Regions from separate parts of the Homo sapiens genome. Here region 1 is linked to region 2. The links are contacts of gene promoters, found by promoter capture Hi-C in blood cells and fetal thymus (Javierre and others, 2016). All regions are on one chromosome and are shown on one strand. The core of a region is centred on a gene start or on the middle of the fragment in contact, and the rest is flanking DNA. Distances in the headings are between cores, read along the strand shown. Region 1 has its middle 13 kb from the start of POTEA. Region 2 holds the start of POMK (protein O-mannose kinase).

Region 1 (4,880 bases), core at 1,985-4,484, 190 kb after region 2:
GCTCCTGTCCCGCAGTCCCCAGGACGCACACCTGCGCGTGGGCAGCACTTTCTGAAGCCCCAGAGAATGCACTTGAAGGCGCACTGCTTGGTGATGGGGATCACCTGGCCAGCCGGTGGCAGTTCTTGGGCACGTCCAGGAACTTGCATCCAGGTCCATTTTGGACTCCGCCTCCTTGGGTTGTTCTCCACCTGCAAGCCCCGGTCTGGCTGTTTGCATTTTCCACCCTCCACTACCTCCGAGACTTCAACTCTCACGACGTCTTCAGTGGTGGGGTGGTTCCCGTAGATGCTGTGGCCTGGATCCCTGCGTGGGGATATCCACCTCCACCAAATGCTTGCCCTGCGGACCGTGCCTCAGCGCGGTGGGGCGGGTGGCCCCGTCTCCCGGATAGCCATCTTCATGTTTTCACGCCACGGCGAAGCGCCTCCGTGGCCTCAGCTCCTGGCCTGCAGCACGCAGGGGATGTTCTTGTCCCCGCCGGGGCCTGCTCCGACCCCACCAGCTTCTTCAGGGCGGGAACCATCTTTCTACTGGGACGTCCGAGCCCGGTGGCGGCCGGGAAGCTCAGCGGCAGCGGCGGAGCAGCTCGACTCGCACTGTGTCCCCGCGGGACAGGCCTCCCGCTAGGCCCGGGACCCACGGCGCCACGCGGCCTCCAGCCAGGGCTCCCGACCTCAGCGCAGCTCCGCCATGTCCTGCGGCCTCCGGAGCCGCCGCCTCCAGCCCTCGGCGCCGCCACCTGGGAGCCGGCTGCGCAGGGCGCCAGCGAAAATCGCATTTCTGCTTAGAAGCCACCCAGTTCACGGTGTTGTGTTATGGCGGCCTGAACGGACTGAAGCACATAGTGACTATGTCTGTGCTCGCTTTTAAATTTACTTTTATCTTTTTAAAATTTTTATTAGTTTTCCCGGAAATCTTGATGTTTTACATAGCCTCAAATTCCTTCTTGGCAAAGTTATACTTGCTAAATATTTAGTAGTTTCAGCAACTGTCTGAAAAGACACAATTATGCTGCTAAAAAAACAAGGAAGAAAGAAGAGACAGCAACAGACAGAGTTTGAGAATTTGAATTTTCTATACACACAGATTAAATTTTGCAAATAATGTTTCTCTTCTTTTCTGTTGAAGTAAAAACACCCAAACTTTCCTGTATATATTTGTACAACTGAAATCCCCCCTGGACTGTCACCCTTGCCCTAACTAAAAAATCAGTTATATTCTAGAAAATGAGAAAGAAAATATAATGAAGATAAAAACATGTATTAAACATGGTTATCTGAACGGACTGAAGCACATAGTGACTATGTCTGTGCTCACTTTTAAATTTACTTTTATCTTTTTAAAATTTTTATTCGTTTTCCCCGGAATCTTGATGTTTTACATAGCCTCAAATTCCTTCTTGGCAAAGTTATACTTGCTAAATATTTAGTAGTTTCAGCAATTGTCTGAAAAGACACAATTATGCTGCTAAAAAAACAATGAAGAAAGAAGAGACAGAGCAAGAGACAGAGTTTGAGAATTTGAATTTTCTATACACATAGATTAAATTTTCCAAATAATGTTTCTCTTCTTCTTTTCTGTTGAAGTAAAAACACTCAAACTTTCCTGTATATATTTGTACAACTGAAATCCCCCCTAGACTGTCACCCTTGCCCTAACTAAAAAATCAGCTATATTCTAGAAAATGAGAAAGAAAATATAATGAAGATAAAAACATGTATTAAACAAAAATGCAGTGATAAAATCGTGAGTTTCAAAATACCCTGTGAGCTTTGTTTGTTAAGTCCAGGGAAAGAGTAACAAAGATAGGCATTAGGTGTGCAGGTCATTTACATGTGTTTATGTGGCCATGTCTACCATTTTCTCTTTAACTTTTCATAACGTGGAACTCATTTCTTTAGGTAGAAGTTATGAGTTAACTATCTTGGTAGTGTTTAAAGAACAAGCATTCTTTAAAAGTCCATTCTTTTTCTTCATTTTTGAATATGCATAGCATTACAGAAAAATTGGAAAGTAAACCAGAAAAATACCCATAATCTCACCATTCCAATACAATGCTGTCTGTGCTTTTTCAAAAAAAAGGGACCTCAATTTCTAAACTTAGAGAAAAATCTCTAGCTTTTGAATTTTTTTATATTCTGAATTTTTGATGAAGAGTTATGAATTTTTGATGAAGAAGTATTTGTTTACTGCCTCTAGCATTGTATTTTAAAAGAGACCGGTCAAAATTTGATTTTAAAACAAAGGATTAAGAACTCTTCCATTTGTGCTTATTTTACATCTATCAGGTGAGAGTAAAATCACTGATTTAAAGACCTCTGAGTTTTCACAACACAAGGAAAAATAAATAGACACCACCCTTACTGTTTTGTACATTCCACTGAAATATAAGTTCCTTGTGGACAGGGGTTTTCATCTGTTTTATTTGCTGCTGTATCCCAGTACCTGGCACCTAGTGCCACGTAGGAAGTACTCAAGTACTTGTTGACTGAGCTAATTAAAATAGTTTCACCATAGCAGAATTGCCTTTATTCTGTGGGGGCGACCCATGTAAGTTTATCTTTTATGTCAAAAATGCCATTTTAATGCATTTATGAACATCTTCAAATTGCATCATAGGTTTTGTTAATTTTTTTAACTAGAGTACTTCAGACATATTTTGCCTGCTGACTCAATGGTGTCATTATGAATATTACTATAATTTTTAGGTGGGCCAGTGAAGCTTGTGTTAATTACCATGAACTGTTGTTTTGATGACTTGGAATAGATTAGGATGAATGTTGTAAAGGTTTTTCTATTTCTGCTGGAATCTTCTGTCATTCTACTCATCATCATCTAGGTAATGGTCTAAGGCTGGCACCATTTCTCTTATCAAGTAACGCAAATGGACTTTTTGGCAGATAGTTGTTGTTTAACAACTTTTGTTTTTAGTTTCAGAGACTATGTTCTGGAATGTTGAGATTTCTTCATACATGACCTCTAGAGAAATAGGCATATTATAAAATGAGTTACACTGTGTAACTGAGGGCATGTGCTGATGGCAAAATTATTATCTTCAAGAATTTTTTTTTTAGTGTTCTGCATTTGCCCACACTGTTAGAAATGGAATGTTAGAGAATATTTATTATTTTGTTGCTATCAAAGCAAAATTTGCAGAAACTTGAATTTATTGTAATTACTGTATTAACTCTGAAATGCATGGCTATGTTTTAAGGGAGGTTTTTGCCTTCCATATTGTTCTCGTTCTACTTTTTCTTTTACTCAGAAGGACTTAATCTCTAAACATTAGAAAATGTTTTATACAGAGACAGGTCTCACTGACTACAATTAGAATTATAAGAATCTCTTCATTTGTATTAGTTGATAAAAGTATTTTTTCCTGTTTTTAGATAACAGTCCTCCAAAATTTATATTACTATTATCAATTCACTTCTTAAGATAAGCACAATGAAGTAGTGCCTCTGGGTGTTAGGATTATGTAGTTTTAACATTTACATTGATTATCTGTATTTTCTACTAAAAAAAAAAGCCTATACGATTTAATCAATATGTTACCAATAGATAACAAAAGTATAGAATACTGTTTCTGCTCCTTTAATAGCGAGACTTTACTCTAATTTCATGGTGGTTCTAAGGTAGTAGTAAGATGCAAAAAAGAGGTGCAGATGTGACAAGAAAAGTGAGCAAAAAGTAATAATGAACCCACTTAAGAAATTACATGTCTGTATAAGTATTAAAGATAAAGCTTAGGCAGGGCGTGGTGGCTCAGGCCTGTAATCCCAGCACTTTGGGAGGCCAAGGAGAGTGGATCACTCGAGGTCAGGAGTTCAAGACCAGCCTGGCGCCAACATGGTGAAACCCCGTGTTGAATAAAAATACAAAAATTAGCCAGGAATGGTGGGGCGCGCCTGTAATCCCAGCTACTTGGGAGGCTGAGGCAGGAGAATCACTTGAACCCGGGAGGTGGAGGTTGCAGTGAGCCGAGAGCTCCCCATTGCACTCCAGCCTGGGCGACAAGAGGGAAACTATGTCTCAAAATAAATAAATACATAAATAAGAAGAAATAAAAAGGTTAAGGATCTGACACAGAAATGCACACATTTTCTTCTCAACTATCAAAAGCAGGAGGAAAATTTTTAAACTTCCCAGAGATGAGTTTTCTAAGTTTTATTTTCCAAACTTCACTCTTATTAACCTTTAAAACAACACTGGTAGATCATTTCTGAAGTGAAGTTTTAAAATATTCCCTTCACTGTCTGAAAGCAAAATATAACCCTTAGTTTTATCAATTTGTAATTTTTAGTTAAAGAAACAACTTGATAATGGGGACTAAGGGAAATAAAGTTTCTCTGCGGGAGTCCCTGCTGAATGCCGCCCTGAGCTAGCGGGCGACGCTGCGCTTCCCCGCTGGAGGGCGCCATCATCCCATCCACAGAGAGCTCAGCAGGCCACGTGCCGCGGCCTGCTGCGAACCCGCAGGGACTGCTCCCTGGCTGGCGGCACCCTTATTGTTCAATAAAGACCTGGTTCAGAGACAAAGGTGGCCCTGTCAGTAGCTCTGAATAGCCCCAAGCTAGTTGCTGATCCTAACAGGCCCAATTAACTGCTACTCATTTAGCAAAGCGGCCCGGGACCCATCCCGCTTCCCGCTCCACCTTCTGAAACTCTCCCTGCCTGGGTACCTTGGCTATGGGCTTTGCAGTCTCCCTTTAGCGGATCAAAGGTGTGTGGGAAAGAATGACGGCTGGATCCGCCTCCACAGGTCCTTACACAGACGCACACATCACAGCCAGACCCAAAGCACTCATGGTGGTGAGCGAGAGCCCGAGGTGGAATTCCAGGGCCGGTCTCAGAACAACGCCTTGATTGCCGTGATT
Region 2 (5,481 bases), core at 999-3,498:
TTTAGGTTCCCTCAGGTTTCAGTGCGCTGGTCTGAAACTTCCCACTTTCAGTTTGGCTTGGGGGAGCTGCCCACTTCCACAATTGTGCCACAGCAGTGGGAAACAGTTAAAAACAACAAAACACCAAGTTTGTGTCTGTCCTCTTGGAGCTGCAGTGCTACTGAATGGAAAGGACTATCTCTTTCCCTCAGACTTTTGGCTGCTGAAGCTTTTTGCTCTGGCCTTGGGCTTGACTGGGGGCTGGAGTGCAAAGAAAAGAAGAAAATAGAAAGAACAGGGAATTTTCTTCACTCCCTCTGAGGGTTAGGAGTTTCCTTTTCTGCTCCACGAGCCAGAATCAGAGGGTTTCTCCCGAGTCTCTGTGTGTGCCCCCGACACTCAGTTCCAGGCTTTGGACTACCTTCAGCTTGAAGATGGGTGACACAACCAGTTTGATGGTGCGTCAAATTCTGCTGTTCTTTTTATTTTTAATTTTTTGTTTGAATTTAATTCCTCTAATTTTTCATCAGTGTTAAAATTTCACCTTTTCCCAGCACCCCCAAAAAGCCTGTGGGCACAAAATGGTGGCCACGTGGCAAAGAACTCAGCAAGGAGAGCTGCTGGTTGGTTTCTATCTTTGTTTGTTTGAGACGGAGCTTTGCTCTTTTGCCCAGGCTAGAGTGAAGTTGTTGGGGAAACCAGCCCCACACCACCCGGCGGGTACCCCGAGTCCAGCGAAGACAAAGGAATTAGAATAAGAGTTTAAAAGGCGGGTCCGGGGGACCGGAGCGTTGGAGGCTTGCTCACGGCCCCGAGCTCTCGGCCTCCACCCAATTTATTGGTGTATATTCACACTGTTGTGCAACCATCACCCCCATCCATCTCCAGGACTTTACCATCTTCTCACACTGAAACTGTGCACCCGTTAGTATTTTTCATGGCTATGTGGATGTAATATAATTTCTTTCAGAAACCCCTATTGTTATACATTCAGGTTTCTTTTTTTCTCTATTATAAATATCTTTTATCAGCAATGCTTCAGCAAGATCTCTTGTGCATACATCTTGCAGACATATTATTTCTTTTTCTTTTTTTTTTTTTTTTTTTTTGAGACGGAGTCTCGCTCTGTCACCCAGGCTGGAGTACAGTGGCGCGATCTCGGCTCACTGCAAGCTCCGCCTCCCGGGTTCACGCCATTCTCACGCCCGCCACCATGCCCGGCTAATTTTTTGTATTTTTAGTAGAGACGGGGTTTCACCGTGTTATCCAGGATGGTCTCGGTCTCCTGACCTCGTGATCCGCCCACCTCGGCCTCCCAAAGTCCTGGGATTACAGGCATGAGCCACGGCGCCCGGCCACAGACGTTATTTCTGAAGGATAAATTCCTAGAAATGGATTTGCTAGGGCACGTAGGAGGAATTCCAATTTACACTCACTTGTATGTGTGAGGAAACTTTCAGACTCTACTGTAACGACAGGAGGTATTACCGCTGTTTGTCCATGTGATAGGCAAACGTTTCTGTTAATTTTAATACTGTTTGGATAGCTAGTACCGGCTCAGTTTTTTTAACCCACACCATGTTACTGTCTTGATTCTGGACTTTCGCAGTGTGTCAGTGTAGAAGCAGCTAACGCTTCCGATGTACACAACCTAGACGTTCCATGACCCAGCTGACTTCGATGCTGCAAGCCTCCCTTTCGGTTTCCCGGAGCAAGCGCCCGAGTGCGTGTTGGGCTCCCGGCAGGGCTCCTGGCCGGCCCTCGACGGACTTCCCCGCCTTTGCCCAGTCCTGCCCCTCCGCGGAGGCTTGCCAAGGTCTTGTCTGCTGCGCTTGATGTGTGCAGCTCAGCTTTACTGCGTCTAGGCTAAGCCCCACAGTTTCTTTTACAGAGCGATTGTCCAACTTCAGGCATCTGGGTCCCCGAGTGGCGGGTCTGGGCCGGAGCTGGGAATCAGCCTTTCCAGCAAGGTCCCTGCAGATGCCGCGGGTCTGAGGACTACGCTTTGGAAGGCCTCGCAGTGCGTCTAGATCTGACAGCTGCTCTGCATGAGCCTGGCTCCAGGCTGAAGCAATAGTCGGTCAACACAAAATCGTTCTCCCAAGTTAGGGAAGCAGAAGCCAGACAGGGAGACTGGGTAGGTGCGCGCTGGTACCGCCGCGGCGTTCGCTCCGGCTTCAGTGCACGGCCGGAGGAGGACGCCAGGGGGCAGCAGCGCCACGCTCACCCGCCCAGGACGCGCTTCCGAACGCGCAAGCGCAGTAGGCCCAGTGCGTGCTGGCCCGGGGTGGCAGGAGCCGCAGAGGCTTGGGCTGCAGGTAGGTGCTGCGGCGAGGGGTGAGAGGGCGAAGGGGCGAGGGGGCGTGCAGCTGGGTTTCCCGGGGGACCCTGTACGTGGCCTGGGCCGCACCCCCCGCAGCCCCGGCCGCCTGCCCGCGGCCTGTCCGGAGGCTCCCTAGGAGGCTGCGCTGGGCCTGAGCGGCCGTGTCCACCGCGCCCAGCCCCTATCTCCGCGTCCACCCCTGCGCGGTAGCGGGACGTTAAAGAACCAGAGAAGGGCCCGGCGAGGTGGCTCCAGCCTGTAATCCCAGCGCTTTGGGAGGCCGAGGCGGGAGGATCGCGTGAGCTCAGGCGAGAGCAGCCTGGGCAACATGGCGGAACTTCTGTCTCCGTAAAAAAGCACTTAGCCGGGCGCGGTGGCGCCGCCTATAGTCTTATCTACTCCGGAGGCTGAGGCGGGAGAATGCTTGAACCCGGCGGGGGCGGAGGTTTCAGTGAGCCGAAATCGCGCCACTGCACTTCAGCCTGGGGGCCAGAGTGAGAGGCTGTTTCTATTATTATTACTTTATCATTATTATTATTATTTGAGACGGAGTCTCGCTCTGTCGCCCAGGCTGGAGTGTAGTGGCGCGGTCTTGGCTCCTGGGATTACAGGCGTCCGCCACCACGCCCGGCTAATTTTTGTATTTTTAGTAGAAACGGGGTTTCCCCATGTTGGTCAGGCTGGTCTCGAACGCCTGACCTCAGGTGATCCGCCCGCCTCTGCCTCCCAAAGTGCTGGGATTACAGGCGTGAGCTACTGGGTCCGGCAGAGGCTGTCTCTGTTTAAAAAAACAAAAACCAAACCAAACCAAAACAAAACAAAAAACAAAAAAACCAGAAAGGACCGAGGACTCTGTCTCAGCTCTTTGCCTTTGGGTGTTTATTCTGCACGAGATCATTGTTGCCAGGAGGTGTTAAGTGTAATCATATTCTCTTTTTTTTAGAAAGCAAAATTTCGCTGTTTTGTTGCATAATCTTGTCTTTGCCACCCTTTGCCTTTGCTATAGAACCTTAAGGCTAAATAAGCGTTCAGAATATTTAAAATAATCCTCTTAATGTACCTTGTGCTTTATTGGCGCAATGGAATTCTACTCTAAACTGTATTGGATGACATTACTCTGTGTCTTCCCTAGTTGTAGAAAATATCTTGTAAGTCGGTAAAAACTAGTTTTGTCCCTTTGCTTTTCTTTTCTTTTTAAGCTGTAAATGTGGAGCAGTGGGTCCCAAGCCTTTCTCTATCAATAAGCCTTCCTATCAGTGTCAGAAATGCTTTGCATTTCAGTCGTGCCTGAATTTCTTCTGCCCAACCTGCCCCACCATCTTTATTCCTTAATGTGCAGGCTGTTTTCAGGACCAGTAAATTTCAGTGGTTTTTGCTTACTTCTGGACACGAAAGTTCCTTTAGCCACACAGCCTCATGCTATGCTCTGGGCGGCCTACTCCAGAATATGCCTGTGAAACAAAAAAGCAAATCGGGGTTGAGGTGGGCTGAAGTCTTCTTTAAGAAACCGGCAGTCCCAGGGTACCCCAGCCCAGCCCCTAGCTGACCACGCTGGGTTTGATTTAGTTCAACTCCCGAGCATTGCGGTATTTAGGGGAAGAATGGGCTTGAGGCCAGAAAACTTGGCTCTTCTGTGTATAGTTCAGTGACCTTAGATATATTACTTCACCTCTGACTCAGTTGTCTTATCTGTGAAATGGGAATAACAACAATTACATCCACTTCACAGAATTGGTGTGAAGTTGACAGTGTATAAAAGTCAAATGAATTTTGGGGTATTTTTTTTATTTGTTTTGTTTTGGTTTGGTTTGGTTTGTTTTTGCCGAGAGAGGATTCAGAAGTGAATGTGAGGACTTAGGGATATATAAAAGGTTTTTGGGGCATATGAAATTTGGATTCAGCAAGAAATGCATTAAAGGTTTTCTGAGTAATGCTGAGGGTCCAAGAGAGATTAGAAAATATGCATTTCTAGAGTCCCACAGAGTTTTGTAGCTGATGTTGGCAGCCTTTGAGTGGAAATGAAGAAGTGGACAGGGCAAGTTACATGGGTCTGGTGAATGACAAGCAGATCTGGGTTTATGATGAAGCCTCTAGCCTCTTCACTTGCACAAATACCTTCCAAAACCTTGCACAAATCCTCTTGCCAAAACTCTGGCAAGAGGCTCAGCACTTTTACATTCATAACTATTCTTCTCTTAAGGAATTACCACTCCTTGCCCCAACTTGTATAAGCTTCAGGCCCCATAAAACCTGAATCCACTAGTGGCAAGGAAGGATTGGTGGGAGGTTAGGGGTAAGGAGGGTTGGAGGGTTGAAAGGATTTATCGCAGGGTTTGAGCTGGGAAACTTGGATTGGAGAAGGAGGTGGCAGATGAGGGTCCTCAGAAGACAGGAGCCGTGAGGAGAGGAAGAGCGGATTCCGTGGAGCGAACACAGGAGAGGGAAAGCAGCCTGTGCGGCTGAGGCCATGAAGAGGGAGAGGTGCAGAGTGACCAGGCAGTTGGTGCGTCTTTGCCGAGTACCCGCTGTGTGCCAGGCACTGGGGTGCAGTGGTGAACAGGACAGGCAGGCAGGCTTCTTGGTGCTCAGAATCTAGAGGAAGCCGGGGCCTGGGTATCCCAGAAAGGGAGCCTTTGAGGAAAGCTCAGGGGCCAGAGAGTGTGGTGCAGGGAGGGTTTAGGGAAGCAGATAGGGGCTAGATTTCAGGAGGCCACATAAGAGTTTGGACTTGATCCTGTGGGCCGAGTGGGGGGCTGTTGAATGTTAAGCAAGGTGGGATCAGATCCGTGCTTTAGAAAGCTCTCCCTGCATGGGCCGGACATGGTGGCTCATGCCTGTAATCCCAGCACTTTGGGAAGCCAAGGTGGGCGGATCACGAGGTCAGGAGATTGAGACCATCTGGCCAACATAGTGAAACTCCGTCTCTATTAAAATACTAAAATTAGCTGGGCATGGTGGCACGTGCCTGTAATCCCAGCTCTGTAATCCCAGCTACTCAGGAGGCTGAGGCAGGAGAATCCCTTTAACAAGGGAGTCAGAGGTTGCAGTGAGCTGAGATTGTGCTATAGCACTCCAGCCTGGTGACAGAGTGAGACTCCTTCTCAAAAAAAGAAAAAAGAAAAAAAAGAAAGCTCTCCCTGCATGTATCAGAGAAACTTCCATGTATGCCTGGGGAGATG

Evidence for each region. Contacts are between HindIII fragments. The CHiCAGO score rates a contact against its expected background, and 5 or more counts as called.
Region 1: a fragment that was not itself captured here is called in contact with the fragment with the promoter of POMK in region 2 in 6 of 17 cell types (megakaryocytes, erythroblasts, endothelial precursors and 3 more); the score reaches 9.3 in megakaryocytes.

The regions. Positions count from the first base shown.
Region 1 is chr8:43,276,558-43,281,437 of GRCh38, forward strand. No RefSeq gene overlaps it. Among named protein-coding and RNA genes, the nearest start is that of POTEA, 13 kb to the right of the region's middle. The HindIII fragment of the contact is 1,023 bases long and covers 2,724-3,746 here.
Region 2 is chr8:43,091,267-43,096,747 of GRCh38, forward strand. POMK (protein O-mannose kinase) reads left to right here and starts at 2,249. Exons shown (of 5, transcript NM_032237.5): 1 at 2,249-2,297. RefSeq lists enhancers at 1,213-2,119, 2,120-3,025 and a silencer at 2,277-2,486. The HindIII fragment of the contact is 4,326 bases long and covers 207-4,532 here.